2 separate regions of the Homo sapiens genome follow, and region 1 is linked to region 2. The links are contacts of gene promoters, found by promoter capture Hi-C in blood cells and fetal thymus (Javierre and others, 2016). All regions are on one chromosome and are shown on one strand. The core of a region is centred on a gene start or on the middle of the fragment in contact, and the rest is flanking DNA. Distances in the headings are between cores, read along the strand shown.

Region 1 (3,192 bases), core at 56-2,555, 2.2 Mb before region 2:
TACTTTTTTATCCCATTCACTTAGGGGCTTAACTATGCAATCTGCTTCAAACAAGGGAATGTGGATATGTGACATGCATGTGACATGGACCCCATATCTGAGCATGAACTTTAAATGCACCTGTGTAGTTTAGCCCTGCCTCTCTTGTCCATGCCAGAGCTGGGATAAGGATGAGGTGGGTGAGACAAGGTCTTGCAAGTGCAGGGTGAGATTCTGTGTTTATTTAAAATTTTGGTATTTCATTAATCATGGATTTTTGCATGAATTTTTATTTTTAAAAATATTATATTAGTATATTATTTATCTTGATAACAGAGTGTTTCAGAGTCTGTTGTCAAGACTTGCAGGCAAGGCTTTGCAGGCAAGGCCAGTGTCCCATTGTAGCCCTGGTTCCAGCCCTATACCATGAGAATGGCATGTACTCAGAGCGTGACATCTTCCTCAGCCTCAGGTATGAAATGAGAAGACCTGTGGAGCTGGACTGAGCTGAATCAAGCTGAATCAGTCTAGATTTTGGACTTGCATGGGGCCTGTAGCTCCTTTGTTGTGGCCAATGTCTCCCATTCGGAATGGCTGTATTTATCCAATGCGTGTACCCCCATTGTATCTAGGAAGTAACTAACTTGCTTTTGATTTTACAGGCTTATAGGCGGAAGGGACTAGCCTTGTTTCAGATGAGACTTTGGACTGTGGACTATTGAGTTGATGCTGAAATGAGTTAAGACCTTGGGGAACTGTTGGGAAGGCATGATTGATTTTGAAATGTGAGGACATGAGAGTTGGCAGGGACCAGGGGAGGAATGATATAATTTGGCTCTGTATGGTTTTATCAAGGGTCTCCACTTTTGCGTCTTCCTCATTCTCTCGTTGCCTGCTGCCACCCATGTAAGACGGGACTTGCTCCTCCTTGCCTTCCACCATGATTGTGAGGCTTCCCCAGTCACATGGAACTGTAAGTCCAATTAAACCTCTTCCTTTATAAATTGCCCAGTTTTGGGTATGTCTTTATCTGCAGCGTGAAAATGGACTAATACGTTAAGTTGATACCAGTAGAGTGGGGTGCTTCTGAAAAGATACCTGAAAATGTTTTTCTCAAAAGATCAATATCATTTTATATTTTAATTGATTTTAAAAAGCTTTCCTCTAGGTTGTCTCTGGACAGTTTTAAAAATGACTAAGGCTAATGGGTGTTCCCTCACTTACATGAGAGAAATAAACCAGGAATTTTGGTTTATGAATTACGTTTGTGAATTGTTTCATGCTGAAGGGCACAGAGTTGAAAGGAAATTTTTGGATTCACTTGGGGTGGTCCCTGATTTCTGACAGGAACGTGACTAAACTCTTCCTGAATTGGTGTATTAATTCAAAATAAAAAATCTGTAGGAAAGAAATTCCAAAACTTTCATTTGTATTAACTCAGTTTTGGGTTTCATAACTCTGGCTGTTGGGAAAATGTCTAATTCTCTTAAGGATATAAGCTTCCAACACAGTCAAGATCATTACTTTTATCAAGGAAAACCTAAGTAGCCTAGAGAGTAGAGATCTTATCTTCAAATGTTACAGATAACACCTTGCACAGAACATTACAGATAGTAGATGCCAAATAAATATAGACGCCAATTAAATTGAACTGAACAGCAGGGGTGAAGTTGTTGGGCAGCAAATAACATTACTGACTTGAGACTTCATTGCTGTGTCTTTCTCATTTCCTGACATGAACACTTGGATTCTGTAAAAAATATTTATTCAGAACAAGAACAATGCTGACTTTTCTATGAAGATCATTCAGTGATTCATTCAACAAATATTTGTGGTGCAGGTGCCAGGCACTGTCCCAGGTTCTGAATATTTTCACTGCGTGCTACTGTGTTTTAAATAATAGTGTGCAATCCTAAGAACGTAAACTAACTAAAGGTTTCTGATATGAGAGTTTAATGAGCCCCTGCTCAGGGAGTTTGCTGTGAACCCTTCACTGAATGTGGTCACATTCCCTAACATCACTAATTATGTAATGCCAAGTCCCTTAAGAATATCATTAGGTAACCTGCACTTCCCCATCAAGAATCTTAAAGTGAGGGAGTTAACAGTGGGTTAAGAAAGATAATGTGGTTGCTAGAAAGAATAATAGACCAGGAATTCAGAAACTGAGCTGTGAAGTGCTGTCATCTCTGTCAAGTCACTTAATTCACAGAATCTGTTTCCCTATCTGTAAAATAAAATTAGAAAAATGTTAAAGCGCTCTTTTAGGTTTGATATTCTGTAATCTTGTTAATAGATCTAATTAAGTCTAAATTCTAGGAGGAAGATAAACTCTACATTAAGAGTTTTGGCTCAATTCCTATTAATGGTGCAAAAATTTCTCTTATGTTGTGACATCAAAAAGAAAATACAAATAAACAAAGAAATAAATGTGTATGTAAATATTATTTTAAAGTGGTCACCAAGAGCACCATTTGACAGGTAATTTGACCCTTCAGTGCTTTGTCAAATATACTTCATGATTTAGCTACAGCAGGTATTTCTTCACTTCTCTTTGTAAATTTTTCTTTATCCAGATGGCAGAGGGGTTGAAAAAAGGTGGGGGGAGGGGCTGGCTACTGCATATTTATGTTACTGCTAAAACTTAAATTTTTATTTTTTAAAGTTAGAAGGTTTCCAATTTCGAGGAGTTTAACTTGTAGTTGGATTTTAGATGCTCCTCTGGCTAACGCTGGACATGAAGACAGACAGCAAAGCGTGGGGAGAGAGATCTAGTTTAAGTTCGAGGGAAAAAAATAACAGACGCAACTTAGATAAAAGAATACTACCATCAAAAAAAGGGGGGCTAGAGCCGGCGATGGCCTTGAGGATTAGGACACCTGCCGAGCCTGGAGTAAACAGGTAATGTCAGGCAGGTCCTGGAACCCCGGGAGGCCCAAGTTCTTGCTGCGGGAAGAGGGATTAGCAGAATGATAACGCAGGTCTGTTTGTGTTTTAGGGGTTTTAACATGCATTCTGCAAGTAAGTGACCTATCCAGGTCATTCGATTCAGGCTCAGAAAAAAAACCCCGCAAATTAATATATCTAAATGCTGAGATAGTGACACCTTTTTAAAAAAGTTATACATAAGCATCTTTATCAAAAAGCATTACATTTTAAGGCAAAAATCTGAACTGTCACAGTATCCACCTCACCGAGTTCAGCAGCCCCACC
Region 2 (3,315 bases), core at 175-2,674:
CCTTTTGTCCCCCTAGACAATCTCTGGCCTAATTTTGATTACTCCTCCCCCTGTGTATCCCTGCTCTCTCTTAATTAGAAATCATACCTCAGAATCGTGCCTCTCTTCCCCCCTTGTAAGAGGAGAACGCCTGACCCACCACCTGGAGAACAATGTAACCCAACTCCGAGTCCATGGATTCCTCTACCCAAGCCCCAAGATTTATCTCCCAGGGAAATCAGAAAGCCAGTTCTGTCCTGTCATCCCGGATTCCCTCAAGGTGTCCTGCTCCTGGTCTAGGATTACCAGCTCCTTTCTACCCTGGGGCATTCTACTCACCTTCCTTTTCCAAGAATCTCGCCCCTCACCCTCGGACCCTTCACCGCGACCCCCGCGCCCACCCGGAGCAGCACAACAGGCGGCGAGTGGCCTCCGAGGGCAGAGCCCGCGAGGGCGGGGGTCGGGGGCGGGTCGAGAGCGGCGCAGCGGCGGCCGGCCACGTCGGGTCAGTGCCCCACTCCCACCGCAGGACACACGCCCAGTACCTTTGTAGTGCACCCGCAGGTTGTTCTGAGAGAGGCCGATGTAGCTGAACTTGTCCTTCGGGCTCCAGGACCGAGGCAGCGGCGTCTCTTGTTCGTCCACGGCCGGGTAGAGACGCTTCAGCCGCCGCTGCAACTCCTTCTCCTGCTCGTTCAGGGCCGAGTCCCCGTGAGGGAAGGGGGCCGCGGCGCTGCTGCCCGCCACCAGAGCTGGGGTCGGGGCTCCTCCAGCCGGGCCGGGGCCCGCTGCAAGGCCCGGGGGAGCGGGCGGCCCGCTGGCGGGGGCAGCCGCTGAGGCAGGGGGAGGCGGGGGCGGCGGCGGGGGCGGCGGGGCCGCGGTGGCCGGGGGCGGCGGCGGCGGAGGGTGGAGGAGCAGGGCGGCCGCCGCGGCCCCTAAGCCTTCGCCGCCCGCACCGCCGCCGGGCGAGCCGGCCGGAGAAGAGCCGGCGCTGACGGCCGGGGGCGCCGGCAGGACGACTCCGGAGACTGGGGCCAAGGCCGCCGGCGGTGGCGGCGACAGCTGCTGCTGCTGTTGCTGCTGCTGCGGCGGCGGCGGCGGCGGCTGCCCGGACATCCCGGCCGCGACTCAGCCTGCGGCCACCTCCACCTCTTCTCTCCTTCCTCCTCTGCTTCCCGGGGGCGCTGTCGCTGCGGCCGCCGGCACCAGGCGCCCAGTCCGCCCGCCCCGGAAGCAGGCGGCGGGCCGCGCGCCCAGGGAGACCGCGGCGGTTGAGGAGCTCGGAGACGCGGGAGTAGGCGGCGGGCCCGGGAGGCCGGGAGAGAACGTTGGCCGGAGCGCGGGCGCGCGGCCCGGGGACGAGGCGCCGAGGGCGGGGGCGACGCGGGAGCGCGGGAGGGGAAGGCGCGCTGGCGGCCGCCGCGGCCGCTGCTCTCGCGGCTGTTTCCCGGCGGGCGGGCCGGGCCGGCGCGAGACGCTGCGCGCGGGCGGCGCTAGGCGAGGGGGCGGGACGGAGGCGCGAGAGAGGCGCGAGCGGTGCGAGGGGGCGGGCCGCGGGGCTCCCGGCTGTGCGCCGCGAGGCGTCCTCCCGGGCCCGCCAGTCGCTCGTGGGCAGGATCGCTGGGCTCCCGGCGCCGCAGGTCCCTTCGGAGGTGTCCGCCTCCTCTCCCTTGGCGGCCGCCGTCGCCCCCCTCGCCGGCGAATCCCCTCCCACTTGACTTCTTTTTGTTGTCGTCGCCCCACCTCCCCACCGTAGGGCTCCTCGGAGCCGAGGCGCCGCTTCTCGTCCAGGCGAGAGTAATCGAGCCCCGCTGGGGCCGCCGCGAGCCCAGGCCCCGGGGCGCTCTAGGACCCGTCGGCCCGGGGCGTGCGGAGCGGCTCAGGCTCCCCGCGCAGTGCTGCTAGCTCTCGCCTCAGTCCCGTTCCCGTTTGCCGCCTCCCTCCAAAGAGGAACGCATTGCCTTTGGTACTTCAGTGTTTAATTCCGTAGCATTGACCATATGGGCAGTAGAAACCACTTCTGAAGGCAGTCTCCCACTTAGAATAGTGACTGTTTCATTAATTAATTTTACGAGGACTCACAGTGAACTTAACAGTGGTAGAAGATGTCATTAATAAAGACCGGCATATCTTCAAAAAGCAGGAGCAGGCACTGTATGAATACAAGATTATAGTGTGTGTTTAGGAAGGGCTTCTAGAGACGTCAGAACATTTTATAGACTCGTTAATTTTCATAACAGGGTTCTTAGGTAACAGAAAATTATGCCCATTTTTAAAACAAGGAAATATTTACCGAGATCAGCAGAGTCAAAAATAGGACTTCCTACTTTGCAATTCCCAATAGAATGCTTCGTCGACTAATTTGGCACAACTTGCCAAGTGTTGCTCTCTGACCCATCATAACATTACTACTTTGTTTTCACCACTTCCCTTTGTTTAGCTTATCCCTCCCTAGCTGGCAAAATCAGGCTTTGCATATGTAAATTGTGTGATGTAAATTCTGATATTTTGTTTGCTTCCAAAGATATGATGGTAATCATTTGGTCAAATAAGAAATGTTTTGCCGAAGAGAAAATTATTTCGTTTTGAAGAAGGTAGGCCAAAGGTGATTTAATTTAAGGCCAAGATTATCTGGCCAGAACAAATAACAGAGTCATTCGGCCTAATTTCTCCCTCAGTTACCCAGACAACTAGATGTTCTGTTGTACTTTTATTATTATTATTATTATTGTTTTGTCGCCCAGGCTGGAGTGCAGTTGTGTGGTCTCAGCTCACTACAACTTCCGCCTCCCGGGTTCAAGCGATTCTCCTGCCTCAGCCTCCCAAGTAGCTGGGACTACAGGCATGTGCTCACACCCAGCTAATTTTTGTACTTGTAGTGGAGACGGGGTTTCACCATGTTGGCCAGGCTGGTCTCGAACTCCCGACCTCAAGTGATCTACCCGCCTCAGCCTCCCAAAGTGCTGGGATTACAGGCGTGAGCCACCATGCCTGGCCTCTGTTGTAGTTTGATAGAAATATCCATTAATTTTAACCTGTTGTTTGATGACTTTTTTTAAACCACTGCACTTTGAATCACATGATGTCACTGTATTTACAGTGTTCTAACACTTTCATTTATATTACAGTAACAATGAGTTCAATGTAAGCCAAGCTCTATTTAAATGTACGATAGCCATGTTAGAATAAATGGGCTCCAGACGTCATTAAACTTTCTTGAAACACTTTTGAAGATGTACTTTTTTTCTGTCAGCACACTTAGGAACTATCTAGAACTTTCCGTATCTTAGGAACAGCTGAAGGAATAGAATTGTCTAACATTTTGTTGGAAGCATT

The links. The method cuts DNA at HindIII sites, captures the fragments that hold promoters and counts their contacts. A CHiCAGO score of 5 or more calls a contact.
Region 1: a contact is called between a fragment that was not itself captured here and the fragment with the promoter of RANBP9 in region 2, in 1 of 17 cell types (naive CD4 T cells). The highest score is 6.5, in naive CD4 T cells.

The regions. Positions count from the first base shown.
Region 1 is chr6:11,534,090-11,537,281 of GRCh38, forward strand. No RefSeq gene overlaps it. Among named protein-coding and RNA genes, the nearest start is that of TMEM170B, 2.1 kb to the right of the region's middle. RefSeq lists a silencer at 3,124-3,192. The HindIII fragment of the contact is 342 bases long and covers 1,135-1,476 here.
Region 2 is chr6:13,710,411-13,713,725 of GRCh38, forward strand. RANBP9 (RAN binding protein 9) reads right to left here and starts at 1,425. Exons shown (of 14, transcript NM_005493.3): 1 at 525-1,425. The coding sequence starts at 1,095. LOC124901264 (a long non-coding RNA gene) reads right to left here and starts at 2,344. Exons shown (of 2, transcript XR_007059462.1): 1 at 2,273-2,344; 2 at 1,942-2,131. RefSeq lists silencers at 370-489, 750-799, 880-999, 1,160-1,929. The HindIII fragment of the contact is 8,985 bases long and covers 1-3,315 here.